Regions from separate parts of the Homo sapiens genome. Here regions 1, 3, 4 and 5 are each linked to region 2. The links are contacts of gene promoters, found by promoter capture Hi-C in blood cells and fetal thymus (Javierre and others, 2016). All regions are on one chromosome and are shown on one strand. The core of a region is centred on a gene start or on the middle of the fragment in contact, and the rest is flanking DNA. Distances in the headings are between cores, read along the strand shown. Region 1 has its middle 14 kb from the start of SDHD. Region 2 holds the start of HSPB2 (heat shock protein family B (small) member 2). Region 3 overlaps DLAT (dihydrolipoamide S-acetyltransferase). Region 4 overlaps IL18 (interleukin 18). Region 5 has its middle 36 kb from the start of IL18.

Region 1 (2,700 bases), core at 65-2,564, 190 kb before region 2:
TACGTTTTTAAGTTTTATACATAGGCCTGATGATATTGCAATTTACTTCTTAAAATCTTCATAAGCTTTCATATTAAACTATTATAGAAACACTCTATGAGGCTGGGCTTGACACATCCCGTAACAGATTTCATCCTTGGTATGTAGTAATCTTGTATTTTTTCAAAAATGAATCTCATATACATAGTCTTATGCCCAATTTACAAACTCTGTTTCTCAAAAGAATACCAATAGATACATTGTGTCTCCCATCATCACCAGCATAATCTACAACTGAAAGACTAGTTTTTTATTTATATTTATATTATATTATATTATTATTTATTGAGACTGAGTCTCACTCTGTTGCCCAGGCTGGAGTGCAGTGACATGATTTTGGCGTACTGCAGCCTCCGCCTCCCGGGTTCAAGCAATTCTCCTGCTTCAGCCTCTTGAGTAGCTGGGACTACAGGCATAAGCCACCATGGCAGGCTAATATTTGTATTTTTAGTAGAGACGGGGTTTCACCATGTTGGCCAGGCTGGTCTCAAACTCCTGACCTCAGGTGATCCACCTGCCTCAGCCTCCCAAAGTGCTGGGATTACAGGCGTGAGTCACTGTGCCAGGCCCTATATTTATATGTTTGAGACAGGGTCTCACTCTGTCACCCAAGCTGGAGTGCAGTGGCGCAATCTCAGCTCACTGCAACCTCCACTTCCTGGGTTCAAGCAATTCTCCCGCGTCAATCTCCCAAGTAGCTAGGACTATACAGGCGCATGCCACCACACCCGGCTAATTTTTGTATATTTTGGTAGAGACAGGGTTTCACCATGTTGGCCAGGCTGGTCTCGAATTCCTGACCTCAGGCGATCCGCCTGCCTCGGCCTCCCAAAGTGCTGGGATTACAGGCATGAGCCACTGCACCTGGCCTGGAAGACTAGTTTAGAAACAGTCACTGATGAAAGTTAGAGTTAGAACCACATTGGAAATGACCATTTGGGTATTTTAATCTCATAGACACCGTTCTGAAGCTCCAGGCCCATAGTCATGGATACATGCTTCACAGTGGTGCTTAGGTCTCAGAAACTGAACATTCAGCCCCACTGGGAATTGACCCTGACACTCATTATCAGGTGTCCAGAGGAGAAAACTCTCCTAAGTAGACATCTACTTTTTAAGATTCTATGAATTGAGACGATAACATCAAGTATATACCACTCTCTCCAAAAGCTTTCTGATCCCTGAGCAGAAAGCTGACTTATATTTAGACTTATATCTCATCTTATGTTTATAATGTGTATCTGAAAATTCCAGGGTCTGAATTCTTTGTGGGTATGGTTCTGTTTATTTGTGCTGACTCTTGCTCAGGACATTCCAGTACTGTGATTTTTGCTGACAGTTCACGTTCACTGGAACTTTATGGGGATTTTTGAAGCTTGTGTTGGGGTAACCCTTCTCTCTCTGGTGAGGATTTGTGCTGACTACCATGCCCTACAAACCTAGGTCAAAGTTAAATTTGCCCCATGTAACCTTTTTAGATATGCAGGTAACTTGAACTCGGACTCCAAACTGGCATGAGGACTGGCTCTTAGCCACACATTCTCAGAAGAGACTCTTTCCTCCAACCTGAGCCAAGGCAAGATACACACATTGCTCTGCTCTCTGCTTTTTCAGATAAATATCAGTTTTTCTTTTGGGGGGGATGGAGTTTCACTCTTGTTGCCCAGGGTGGAGTGTAATGGTGTGATCTCAGCTCACCGCAACCTCTGCCTCCCGGGTTCAAGCAATTCTCCTGCCTCAGCCTCCCGAGTAGCTGGGATTACAGGCACCCACCACCACGCCCGGCCCTTTTTTTTTTTTTTTTTTTTGTATTTTTAGTAGAGACAGGGTTTCTCTCTGTTGGTCAGGATGGTCTCGAACTCCCAACCTCAGATGATCCACCCGCCTCGGCCTCCCAGAGTGCTGGGATTACAGGTGTGAGCAAATATCATTTTTTCTAATTCACCCTTTCTCTGAGGGCAAAACTCTTTATGGTTCTTGGTTTAGGGGAATCTTCATTCTAACTCCCTGGTTTGAGCCCTAAGCTTTTCTCCTGGCCTATGTGCCACCTTCTTAAAACTAGAATCCGGCCAGACATGGTGGCGCAAGCATATAATGCAAGCACTTTGGGAGGCAAAGGCAGGTGGATTACTTGAGCTCAGGAGTTTGAGACCAGCCTGGGCAACACAGTGAGACCTCATCTCTACTAAAAATCAAAAAAATTAGCTAGGCATGGTGGCACAAGTCTGTAATCCCAGCTACTTTCAGAAGGCTGAGGTGGGAGGATCACTTGAGCACAGGAGATCAAGGCTGCAGTGAGTTTGATCACGCCACTGCACTCCAACCTGGACAACAGAGCGTGATTCTGACTCAAAAAAATATAATAATGGCTAGGCGTGGTGGCTCATGCCTGTAATCCTAGCACTTTGGGAGGCCGAGGCAGGCGGATCATGAGGTCAGGAGATCAAGACCATCCTGGCTGACACGGTGAAACCCCGTCTCTACTAAAAATATGAAAACAAAATTAGCCGGGCATGGTGGCAGGCGCCTGTAGTCCCAGCTACTCCAGAGGCTGAGGTGGGAGAATGGTGTGAACCTGGCAGGCGGAGCTTGCAGTGAGCCAAGATCGCACCACTGCACTCCAGCCTGGGTGACAGAGCGAGACTCTGTCTCAAAAATATA
Region 2 (2,700 bases), core at 201-2,700:
TGAGGAGCTTTTTGTCTAGCTGGCTGTGACCTCCTCCCTCCCTCCCCATCCCAGCTTCCCGGCCACAGAATAGGGAGCAGTACAAACAAGGCCCTGAGATTTGGGTTTATTCAGCTCCACCCAAAACTAAACCAAGGCTATGACATGTCCCATGGGACCAAACCATACATTGTGGACCATGCACCTTTCCCTTCCCCCAAGGATGCTGCTACCTCTGGAGTGGTGGGCAGCTGCCCATATCACCTTGGGAGGTAGAGAGGGATTTGCTGGGTGCTGGGTCTGTGGCAATCAGGGCTCAACTATGGCTGCCTCCTCCTCTTCCTCTGGATCAGGAGGCGCAGGGAGCAGGGAGATGTAGACCTCATTGACCTCTGTGTCCAAATGTCGGCCACCCCGAGGTGCTTCCAGGTTTAAGATGCCATCATGGGAGAGAGCAGCTCGGACTCGCCAGGGGTCGACATCAGCAGGCAGGACATAGGTGCGGCAGAACTCTCGGGACACGAAGCCGTGGCGGTCCAGGCGCTGGGGGTGCCGGGCAGACACCTCCAGCAGGTTATCCACAGTCCTCACAGTCACCTCGTCTGGGGTAAAGTGGCTCACATCCAGAAATGCCTGGAACTTGCCCTCACTGAGCCTAAGCTCGGAGGCCCCTGCCCTGCTGCCCTCCCCAGCTGGGGCGGCCCGAGGCCGGACATAGTAGCCATGGTAGAGTGTGGGGGTCAGGATCTCTTCTGGCAGGAGGCCTAAAGGGCAGAGAGAAGGCAAGAGGCAGGATGAGGGAGGATGAGGCTGGCACAGGGGCGAAATGGGAAATCTGGAGAGGAGGGATTGGGAAGAGCAAGAGGGGAGTCAGGAGGAGTAGGGAACGGGAGGGAGGCCACACTGTAGCTAGGAGGAGAAGGCAGCTCGGAAGAGGGGAAAGAGAACGGAAAGGAAAGGGAGGAGGAGGAGGAGAAGGAGGAGGAGGGGGAGGAGGAGGAGGCACCAAACGGCCTGGGTGGATAGAAGGGGGACAAGGAGGCACACCCAGGCCGGCAAAGAGCAGGTATCAGCACTGCAAGCACCAAGTGTGTCTTGAGGTCAGCAGGAATGGGAAAGATCTCTGCTTGGAGGGGATGAGGGGTAGTCTGGGGTGGGGGGTGGCTGGTCCCAGGAGATCAGTTAAGCCCAGAGTGGGGTGGAGGCCAGCAACGTTGGGAGGTCAGCCCAGAATTTCAGGGGGTGGGGGTGGGGGGCAAGGGGGTGGTGTCTGTGCCATACCTTCTCCGAAGCGCTGCTCACCCAGGCGGCTCGGGTTGGCAAATTCGTACTCGGCGGTGGCCGGGTGGGCATGTGGCACTGAGCGGCCCGACATGGCTGCAGATGCAGCAGAAGCCCTGGTCCGAGGTGCAGCCCCAACAGGCGCAGCGCGACCCCTCCAGCTGCCCGGAGAGCCAGGGCTCGATAGGAGGTGGGGGCGGGGTCGACACCACCCAAAATAGTGCCGAGCCTCTTGGGGGGGGAGGGGCTGGGAGTGGGGGCCCTGAGTGAGAGCAACGAGGGTGTGACCAGCGCCGCCCGGACCCCTAGTCCCCTCCCCCGCACACTCTTCAGCTGTCGCAGGGGGCCTGAGAGGACAGCTGAGGGTCCTGGCTGGGAACGAGCTGGGGAGGGGGAGCTGGTGGTGCCTGGGGCATGAAGAGGCCTCGCTGAGACCCTCACAAACGGTTTGCACGTTTCCACACCTCATTTTCTCCTCTTCGGTGGCAGGCACTGTGCACCCAATTCCTAAAGCACTCCTGGATTTAATGTTCTGAGAGCCACATAGAACGAAAGATGCAAGAAATCTGTTTGCTCTTTTTTCAGGGGGTGGGGTCTTTCTGCCCAGATGTGGGATCCTCTCCTAAACCCAGGTCAACCCAGGGCACGAGGCAGATGGCTGGTGCTGACATGTTGACCATCACTGCTCTCTTCCAAGGACTCACAAAGAGTTAATGTCCCTGGGGCTCAGCCTAGGAAGATTCCAGTCCCTGCCCAGGCCCAAGATAGTTGCTGGCCTGATTCCCCTGGCATTCAGGACTGGAAAGGAGGAGGAGGGGCACACTACGCCGGCTCCCATCCTCCCCCCACCCCGCGTGCCTGCTTGGGATTCCTGACTCTGTACCAGCTTCAGAGAACAGGGGTGGGGGTGGGTGCCATTGGGTGTGGACAGAAAGCTAGTGAAACAAGACCATGACAAGTCACTGGCCGGCTCAGACGTGTTTGTGTCTCTCTTTTCTTAGCTCAGTGAGTACTGGGTATGTGTCACATTGCCAAATCCCGGATCACAAGTCTCCATGAACTGCTGGTGAGCTAGGATAATAAAACCCCTGACATCACCATTCCAGAAGCTTCACAAGACTGCATATATAAGGGGCTGGCTGTAGCTGCAGCTGAAGGAGCTGACCAGCCAGCTGACCCCTCACACTCACCTAGCCACCATGGACATCGCCATCCACCACCCCTGGATCCGCCGCCCCTTCTTTCCTTTCCACTCCCCCAGCCGCCTCTTTGACCAGTTCTTCGGAGAGCACCTGTTGGAGTCTGATCTTTTCCCGACGTCTACTTCCCTGAGTCCCTTCTACCTTCGGCCACCCTCCTTCCTGCGGGCACCCAGCTGGTTTGACACTGGACTCTCAGAGGTGAGTCTCCCCACAGCTAGGACGGGAGAGTCCTTACTGG
Region 3 (2,700 bases), core at 188-2,687, 150 kb before region 2:
AGGCACCTGTAATCTCAGCTACTCAGGAGACTGAGGCAGGAGAATCACTTGTACCCAGAAGGCAGAGGTTGCAGTGAGCTGATATTGTGCCACTGGACTCCAGCCTGGGCGACACAGACTCCATCTCAAAAAAAAAAAAAAAAAAAATTTGGAGACCAGATTTTTCTACAGACTTCATTTTTAGATCACTTACCAGTAGTGATGATGATTTCCCCATGTATTCCAGGACTTGTGCATTACACATGATGAACATTCCTCCTATCTCTCTAATGTGCTGGTTTACTCCTTTCTAGACCATGCCTTGGGATACCCTAACTTCACAATCACAAGCTTCAGAATTGGGAATAAATCACCTAACAGAACCAGACCACACTTTCCATCTTGATAATAAGTGCCACACCCCAACATGGGGTGCTTCAGGAACTCTTTGAGCTTAAAAGTGTTAGATTATATTCTCCTAAATGTAGTCCATATTTTGCCAATTATATAAACTCAAAATTTATCTGTATTGAGAGCTTATACATACATGGCTGTCCCTAGATCTAAATAATTTAAATGTGAAAATAATTACCAACAGACCAAAAATTAAACCAGACATATTGAAGATTTATACTTTAATTTTTAAATAATCATATGAACCAAAAACACTATTTCTAACTTTTTTCTTTCAGTTCTGGTAAGAGACTGAATCGATTTAGATTATAGCTCAGATTAATTTTTAACTCAACAATGTTTATTAGAAGGCAACTGTTTTTATTTTTTTTCAAGGGAACAACAGAACCACAAGCATTAGCGAAAGATGAATTATCTTTGAAGTTTTGAATGTTTGAACCAGATTTGGATCATATTGATGATGGTCCCTTGTGATAAGCTTGTTTCTTTTGGATAATCTTCAACCTAAAATTACTAATTACTGAAAAATCAAATTAATGTATTGTTTTCATAATAATACAGCAAGGTAAAAGTCTGTGTGGAATATATGGAGTGTCACTTGTGTACCATGTAATAATGAATATTTAGAAACAGATTCAACACTGAAACACTTAAAGCAAATTTCAGGGGCTAACTCCACATATTACATATACCAGGAAGCACTGGTCAGATTCATTTTAAGTAGTCATAAATAATTTCAAACGTTTATTAAAACACATAAATATTAATAGAAAGTCTGGAATTGTGATAATGTTCCCAATTCATTTTTATAATCCAGAATATCGCCTCCTTCCTTCCAAAAGAAAGGCAAAATCTAACAAAATAGAAAAAAGTATTTAGGCAAATAAAGTAGCAACCTAGTTAATTTTTTCTCTCCAATAGTATTTTAGGGCTTTCTTATTTTACATGAGACGATGCTGGAGTAGAAGGACACAGAACACTTTTTTACACACATTTAACTTTTTTACTTTATCAAAGTAGAAATTACCATTTTGTTTTTGGCATTTTTAAGCACTCCAAAATGTTTACCAATGTACCCCTCCTTTTCAGACAGGATTTGGGATAAATGGACTTTGGCACATATCTAACTCTAGTAACAATATTTTACATATGTACACTTATTCCATATATATTCCTTAGTTATTTGATAGCATTTTCCACAGTGGAGTCATAAATTCTGTTCATTATGTTCATTTACAATGAACTACCAGTTAATCTTAGAAAATTTTAGTTTCACAACTTCTGTTAAATTATATTAACAATGTTTCTTTTTTGGAGGTAACTGTTGAATTCTGTACTCAAAATTACACATTTGTTTAAATAAATATCCACACAAATTCTCAGTTACATCAAGTAGCTGGTTTATATTTAGATTATCTCAAGTAGGGGGGAATAACCATGTGTAGGAATTCATAGAAAAATAAACAATCAGCTGAAGAGGTCTAAGAAAATGCTGACTTTTAAAATTTCACTTATTTTCCTTGAAGTTTTCTACCCTTCCCATCGATGATAAACCAAGATCATGTAATGGAAAATTTCAAACCAGGGCTAAATTCTAAAGTAAAGCTTCAATTCAAGCCCTTCCCCCAAGAGAATTAATTTTTCTGATTTCTCTTTCTCTCACATCTAAGGAGAACATTTTAGGCAGTTAAATTTCAGAACTTCAAGGTTTCATCAGGGTCACCTTTATGTACTTGTCTTTAGGGAACCACAATTCTACCTATCGTACATTTCCTAGAGGAAGTACTTATCACCAAAGGGCTAGGCAAGGCCACATACATGTCCCTTAATTAGGAGTACAGAGCTAAAAATCTGGTGTCTGATTATTAAATGTGCACAATATTTGGGTGTAATCGGCATTTTAAAAATTCAGTAATGCCCATTATAAATAACTTATCTGGACAGACTCAATAATAAAAATAACTGGTTAAAATAAAAAGAACCACCTGTTTAATAACATATAAATATCTTGTTAAGAATGAATCAGTGTGACCTGGGAGAGTTTAGAAATTCTTGAGTTAGTTACAACAACATAGTGATAGGTTTTTCAAGGTACTTTCTAAACTCAGCAAGCCACTGGGCTCCAACTGCTCCATCCACCACCCGGTGATCACAACTGAGTGTAACAGACATCATGCTAGCCACATCAAACCTAGAAAAAGATAAAGACATTTTAGATATTCTGAAAGAAAATACTGCATTTCAGCCAGTAACCACCCAAATGCTCACTCCTACCCTATAATCCCAACCAGGTAATACTTCCTATCT
Region 4 (2,700 bases), core at 101-2,600, 240 kb before region 2:
ACATAGAGTTGGAGTAAAAGTGTAAGAAAACTAGAAGGGTAAGAGACCGGTCAGAAAGTAGGCTATTTGAAGTTAACACTTCAGAGGCAGAGTAGTTCTGAATGGTAACAAGAAATTGAGTGTGCCTTTGAGAGTAGGTTAAAAAACAATAGGCAACTTTATTGTAGCTACTTCTGGAACAGAAGATTGTCATTAATAGTTTTAGAAAACTAAAATATATAGCATACTTATTTGTCAATTAACAAAGAAACTATGTATTTTTAAATGAGATTTAATGTTTATTGTAGAAAACCTGGAATCAGATTACTTTGGCAAGCTTGAATCTAAATTATCAGTCATAAGAAATTTGAATGACCAAGTTCTCTTCATTGACCAAGGAAATCGGCCTCTATTTGAAGATATGACTGATTCTGACTGTAGAGGTATTTTTTTTAATTCGCAAACATAGAAATGACTAGCTACTTCTTCCCATTCTGTTTTACTGCTTACATTGTTCCGTGCTAGTCCCAATCCTCAGATGAAAAGTCACAGGAGTGACAATAATTTCACTTACAGGAAACTTTATAAGGCATCCACGTTTTTTAGTTGGGGTAAAAAATTGGATACAATAAGACATTGCTAGGGGTCATGCCTCTCTGAGCCTGCCTTTGAATCACCAATCCCTTTATTGTGATTGCATTAACTGTTTAAAACCTCTATAGTTGGATGCTTAATCCCTGCTTGTTACAGCTGAAAATGCTGATAGTTTACCAGGTGTGGTGGCATCTATCTGTAATCCTAGCTACTTGGGAGGCTCAAGCAGGAGGATTGCTTGAGGCCAGGACTTTGAGGCTGTAGTACACTGTGATCGTACCTGTGAATAGCCACTGCACTCCAGCCTGGGTGATATACAGACCTTGTCTCTAAAATTAAAAAAAAAAAAAAAAAAAAAAAAACTTAAGAAAAGAAAATGATCAAGTCTACTGTGCCTTCCAAAATATGAATTCCAAATATCAAAGTTAGGCTGAGTTGAAGCAGTGAATGTGCATTCTTTAAAAATACTGAATACTTACCTTAACATATATTTTAAATATTTTATTTAGCATTTAAAAGTTAAAAACAATCTTTTAGAATTCATATCTTTAAAATACTCAAAAAAGTTGCAGCGTGTGTGTTGTAATACACATTAAACTGTGGGGTTGTTTGTTTGTTTGAGATGCAGTTTCACTCTGTCACCCAGGCTGAAGTGCAGTGCAGTGCAGTGGTGTGATCTCGGCTCACTACAACCTCCACCTCCCACGTTCAAGCGATTCTCATGCCTCAGTCTCCCGAGTAGGTGGGATTACAGGCATGCACCACTTACACCCGGCTAATTTTTGTATTTTTAGTAGAGCTGGGGTTTCACCATGTTGGCCAGGCTGGTCTCAAACCCCTAACCTCAAGTGATCTGCCTGCCTCAGCCTCCCAAACAAACAAACAACCCCACAGTTTAATATGTGTTACAACACACATGCTGCAACTTTTATGAGTATAATGATATAGATTATAAAAGGTTGTTTTTAACTTTTAAATGCTGGGATTACAGGCATGAGCCACTGTGCCAGGCCTGAACTGTGTTTTTAAAAATGTCTGACCAGCTGTACATAGTCTCCTGCAGACTGGCCAAGTCTCAAAGTGGGAACAGGTGTATTAAGGACTATCCTTTGGTTAAATTTCCGCAAATGTTCCTGTGCAAGAATTCTTCTAACTAGAGTTCTCATTTATTATATTTATTTCAGATAATGCACCCCGGACCATATTTATTATAAGTATGTATAAAGATAGCCAGCCTAGAGGTATGGCTGTAACTATCTCTGTGAAGTGTGAGAAAATTTCAACTCTCTCCTGTGAGAACAAAATTATTTCCTTTAAGGTAAGACTGAGCCTTACTTTGTTTTCAATCATGTTAATATAATTAATATAATTAGAAATATAACATTATTTCTAATGTTAATATAAGTAATGTAATTAGAAAACTCAAATATCCTCAGACCAACCTTTTGTCTAGAACAGAAATAACAAGAAGCAGAGAACCATTAAAATGAATACTTACTAAAAATTATCAAACTCTTTACCTATTGTGATAATGATGGTTTTTCTGAGCCTGTCACAGGGAAGAGGAGATACAACACTTGTTTTATGACCTGCATCTCCTGAACAATCAGTCTTTATACAAATAATAATGTAGAATACATATGTGAGTTATACATTTAAGAATAACATGTGACTTTCCAGAATGAGTTCTGCTATGAAGAATGAAGCTAATTATCCTTCTATATTTCTACACCTTTGTAAATTATGATAATATTTTAATCCCTAGTTGTTTTGTTGCTGATCCTTAGCCTAAGTCTTAGACACAAGCTTCAGCTTCCAGTTGATGTATGTTATTTTTAATGTTAATCTAATTGAATAAAAGTTATGAGATCAGCTGTAAAAGTAATGCTATAATTATCTTCAAGCCAGGTATAAAGTATTTCTGGCCTCTACTTTTTCTCTATTATTCTCCATTATTATTCTCTATTATTTTTCTCTATTTCCTCCATTATTGTTAGATAAACCACAATTAACTATAGCTACAGACTGAGCCAGTAAGAGTAGCCAGGGATGCTTACAAATTGGCAATGCTTCAGAGGAGAATTCCATGTCATGAAGACTCTTTTTGAGTGGAGATTTGCCAATAAA
Region 5 (2,700 bases), core at 32-2,531, 220 kb before region 2:
CAATTTTGTCTCCTACTTCTCTAGTCTTCATTCAGCCTGCTTCAGCCACACCGGTCTTGCTGTTGCTCTGACACTCTAAGCGTACTTCCAGCTTGGGGCCTAGTTATTTTCTCTGCCTGTAATTCTCTCCCCTCAGAGGTCCATTTGACAAATTCCTCATCTCCTTCAGGATGCTGATGAAATCTCACTTGTTCAGTGAAGCTTACCCTGGCTATTTAATACCATAACCTGCCCCGTCCCACCTCCACACATTCTAGTTCCCTTTACACCACATTATTTTTCATCTATAGGCCCATCACCTTATAATATATAATGTTTACATATAATTAATATATATAGTATGCTCATTGTTTATTGTCCCTCTTCCTTGGTAGAACGTTGGGTCCCAGAGGCAGAGACCTTTGTCTGTTTTATTCACTGATGTATCCCAATCACCTAAGCGCAGAACCCGGACCAGAGCAGGTGCTCAATGTATGAATATACACAAATGAATGAAGAAGGGAAGGTATAAATTCTGAGGCTTAATGCTTTCTGGCAGACAAAGCAAGTCAGTTGATGAAATGCACAAACTTCCAAGCTCTCTGAAGTTCTGAGGACTCCAGTCAACAGCCTCAGCTCTCTGAGCTGAGAGCCAGAGGGCAACATCTGTGGCTTAGGATTTTGCCTGTCACTTAGCAGTGGCTGGTAGCCTGGGCATCTTACGTGGTTAAATATTTACTGTGAAGAAAGAACTCCAACAGCTGCTGCACCCAGCCCCCGAGGAGGGCTGTGTGGATGGAGCACAGTGTTCAGAACCACACAGGGGCCCTCCCTCTCAGCATGCCTTTCCCACCTGGATAACACCTCACACCCTCACTTCCCAGCATCCAAAAAGGCTCCACCCTTCTCTCCTGGCACCCTGACAGGGATGGTTACACCCAAGCAAGGGGTCATAAAGCCCCTCCATATTAAATGCCTTTTATACGACATTATTTCCTGTAACTATACAGATATCCATAAATCAAGCTCCTAATGCAAAGGCTCCAAAGGCTAGAGAGTCTATGGGAGTGCCCATAAATTGCTTAAGGAAGGAATAACAATTTGAAGTGTCAGGGACAAAGCAGAATCTCCTCATTCATCTAAGTAGTGATTCACCCTGGGCTGCCTGCCAAAGTCACAGGCTTCAGCAGCCAGTGGTTCCATGAAAATATGAGCCTGGTTTCCTGGTGTCTTCCCATCTCTGCCATCTGACAATCCACCTTGGGTCTGCCACCTTGTCTTCTCACTCCACCACTCTCCAGCTAGCCCATCAGGGTTGGAAGCCATGCATTGAATCTTGAAGCTCACATGTTATTTTCACCCTTAGGTAGAAGAAGACAAACTAATTTTTTTTTCTTTTTTTTTTTTTAGACCGAGTGTCTCGTGGTGTGGCCCAGGTTAGAGTGCAGTGGTACAGTCTGGGCTCACTGCAACCTCCACCTCTGGGGTTCAAGCGATTCTCCTGCCTCAGCCTCTGGGGTAGCTGGGACTACAGGCACATGCCACCAAACCCCTCTAATTTTTTGTATTTTTAGTAGAGATGGGGTTTTGCCATGTTTGCCAGGCTGGTCTCAAACTCCTGAGCTCAAAGTGATCCACCCACCTTGGCCTCCCAAAGCACTGGGATTATAGGCATGAGCCATCACACCCGACCCCAATTTAACAAGAAGTATTAAAATGCCTTTCATGCATCTGACAAATATTTATTGAGCACCTACTATAAGCCAAGCTCTTTTCAAGGCACTAAGTATTCAGAAAATAACAGAGAAAGATCCCTGTTCCCAAGGAACTTACATTCTAGTAGGGGGAAAATGACATGTAGACAGAATGTTTTAAAGATCCAAAAATCAGATAACACAAAATGCTATCTGAAAAATTAAGAACCTCAGTGAAGGCTGCGCGTGGTGGCTTATGCCTGTAATCCCAGCACTTTGGGAGGCCGAGGCGGGTGGATCACGTGGTCAGGAGTTCGAGACCCGCCTGGCCAACACAGTGAAACCTGTCTCTACTAAAAATACAAAAATTAGCCAGGCGTAGTGGCAGGCACCTGTAATCCCAACTACTCAGGAGGCTGAGGCAGAAGAATTGCTTGAACCCAGGAAGCAGACATTGCAGTGAGCCGAGTTCGCACCACTGCACTCCAACCTGGGTGACAGAGTGAGACTCCATCTCAAAAACAAAAACAAAACAAAACAAAAACAAAAAAGAACCTCTATGAAGAGGTGATGGTTAAACTAAGATGTGAAAGCCAAGACAAGATCTCCCATGCCAAGATTATGAGGATGAGCATTCTCGGCACAGAGAATAGCTGGTGCAAAGGTCCTGAGGCTGGAGCAAGCTTGGAGTGTAGGAAGCAGAGAAAATGGCTCCTGTGGCCAGGGGAGATTTGGCAGAAGGGAGAGTGGCCATAAATGAGGTGGGAGAGGCAGTTGTGGTTTGGTCAGAGTCTTTGTGGACTCAAGAATGGGGTATGGATTTTATCTAAATGCCAACACAGGGCTTTAAGTTGGGGGAATTATGCAATCTGATTTATGTTTCTGAAAGATTATTCTGGCCACTGGGAAGAGAATGGATTTGAGTTGGGCAAAGGTGGAAGCAGAGAGACCAGTTAGGAGGCAGTGTGCTAGCCTAGATGAGGGATAACAACACCGGACCAGATGTAGCAGTGCACGAGGAGAGAGC

Evidence for each region. The method cuts DNA at HindIII sites, captures the fragments that hold promoters and counts their contacts. A CHiCAGO score of 5 or more calls a contact.
Region 1: a contact is called between a fragment that was not itself captured here and the fragment with the promoter of HSPB2 in region 2, in 1 of 17 cell types (activated CD4 T cells). The highest score is 5.3, in activated CD4 T cells.
Region 3: a contact is called between a fragment that was not itself captured here and the fragment with the promoter of HSPB2 in region 2, in 14 of 17 cell types (naive CD4 T cells, naive CD8 T cells, total CD8 T cells and 11 more). The highest score is 8.4, in naive CD4 T cells.
Region 4: a fragment that was not itself captured here is called in contact with the fragment with the promoter of HSPB2 in region 2 in 1 of 17 cell types (erythroblasts); the score reaches 6.9 in erythroblasts.
Region 5: a contact is called between a fragment that was not itself captured here and the fragment with the promoter of HSPB2 in region 2, in 1 of 17 cell types (neutrophils). The highest score is 5.5, in neutrophils.

What each region holds. Positions count from the first base shown.
Region 1 is chr11:112,099,416-112,102,115 of GRCh38, reverse strand. No RefSeq gene overlaps it. Among named protein-coding and RNA genes, the nearest start is that of SDHD, 14 kb to the right of the region's middle. RefSeq lists a silencer at 2,137-2,345. The HindIII fragment of the contact is 205 bases long and covers 1,212-1,416 here.
Region 2 is chr11:111,911,484-111,914,183 of GRCh38, reverse strand. HSPB2 (heat shock protein family B (small) member 2) reads right to left here and starts at 1,450. Exons shown (of 2, transcript NM_001541.4): 1 at 1,261-1,450; 2 at 91-743. The coding sequence starts at 1,354. The coding sequence ends at 289. CRYAB (crystallin alpha B) reads left to right here and starts at 2,414. Exons shown (of 3, transcript NM_001289808.2): 1 at 2,414-2,660. The coding sequence starts at 2,460. HSPB2-C11orf52 (HSPB2-C11orf52 readthrough (NMD candidate)) reads right to left here and starts at 1,448. Exons shown (of 5, transcript NR_037651.1): 1 at 1,261-1,448. RefSeq lists an enhancer at 46-699. The HindIII fragment of the contact is 6,880 bases long and covers 1-2,371 here.
Region 3 is chr11:112,062,290-112,064,989 of GRCh38, reverse strand. DLAT (dihydrolipoamide S-acetyltransferase) reads right to left here. Exons shown (of 14, transcript NM_001931.5): 14 at 586-2,584. The coding sequence ends at 2,455. It also overlaps a transcript of PIH1D2 not described here. Among named protein-coding and RNA genes, the nearest start is that of PIH1D2, 10 kb to the left of the region's middle. The HindIII fragment of the contact is 1,127 bases long and covers 874-2,000 here.
Region 4 is chr11:112,147,794-112,150,493 of GRCh38, reverse strand. It overlaps IL18 (interleukin 18), which reads left to right. Exons shown (of 6, transcript NM_001562.4): 4 at 288-422; 5 at 1,758-1,891. Among named protein-coding and RNA genes, the nearest start is that of IL18, 15 kb to the left of the region's middle. The HindIII fragment of the contact is 2,063 bases long and covers 319-2,381 here.
Region 5 is chr11:112,127,029-112,129,728 of GRCh38, reverse strand. No RefSeq gene overlaps it. Among named protein-coding and RNA genes, the nearest start is that of IL18, 36 kb to the left of the region's middle. The HindIII fragment of the contact is 2,155 bases long and covers 204-2,358 here.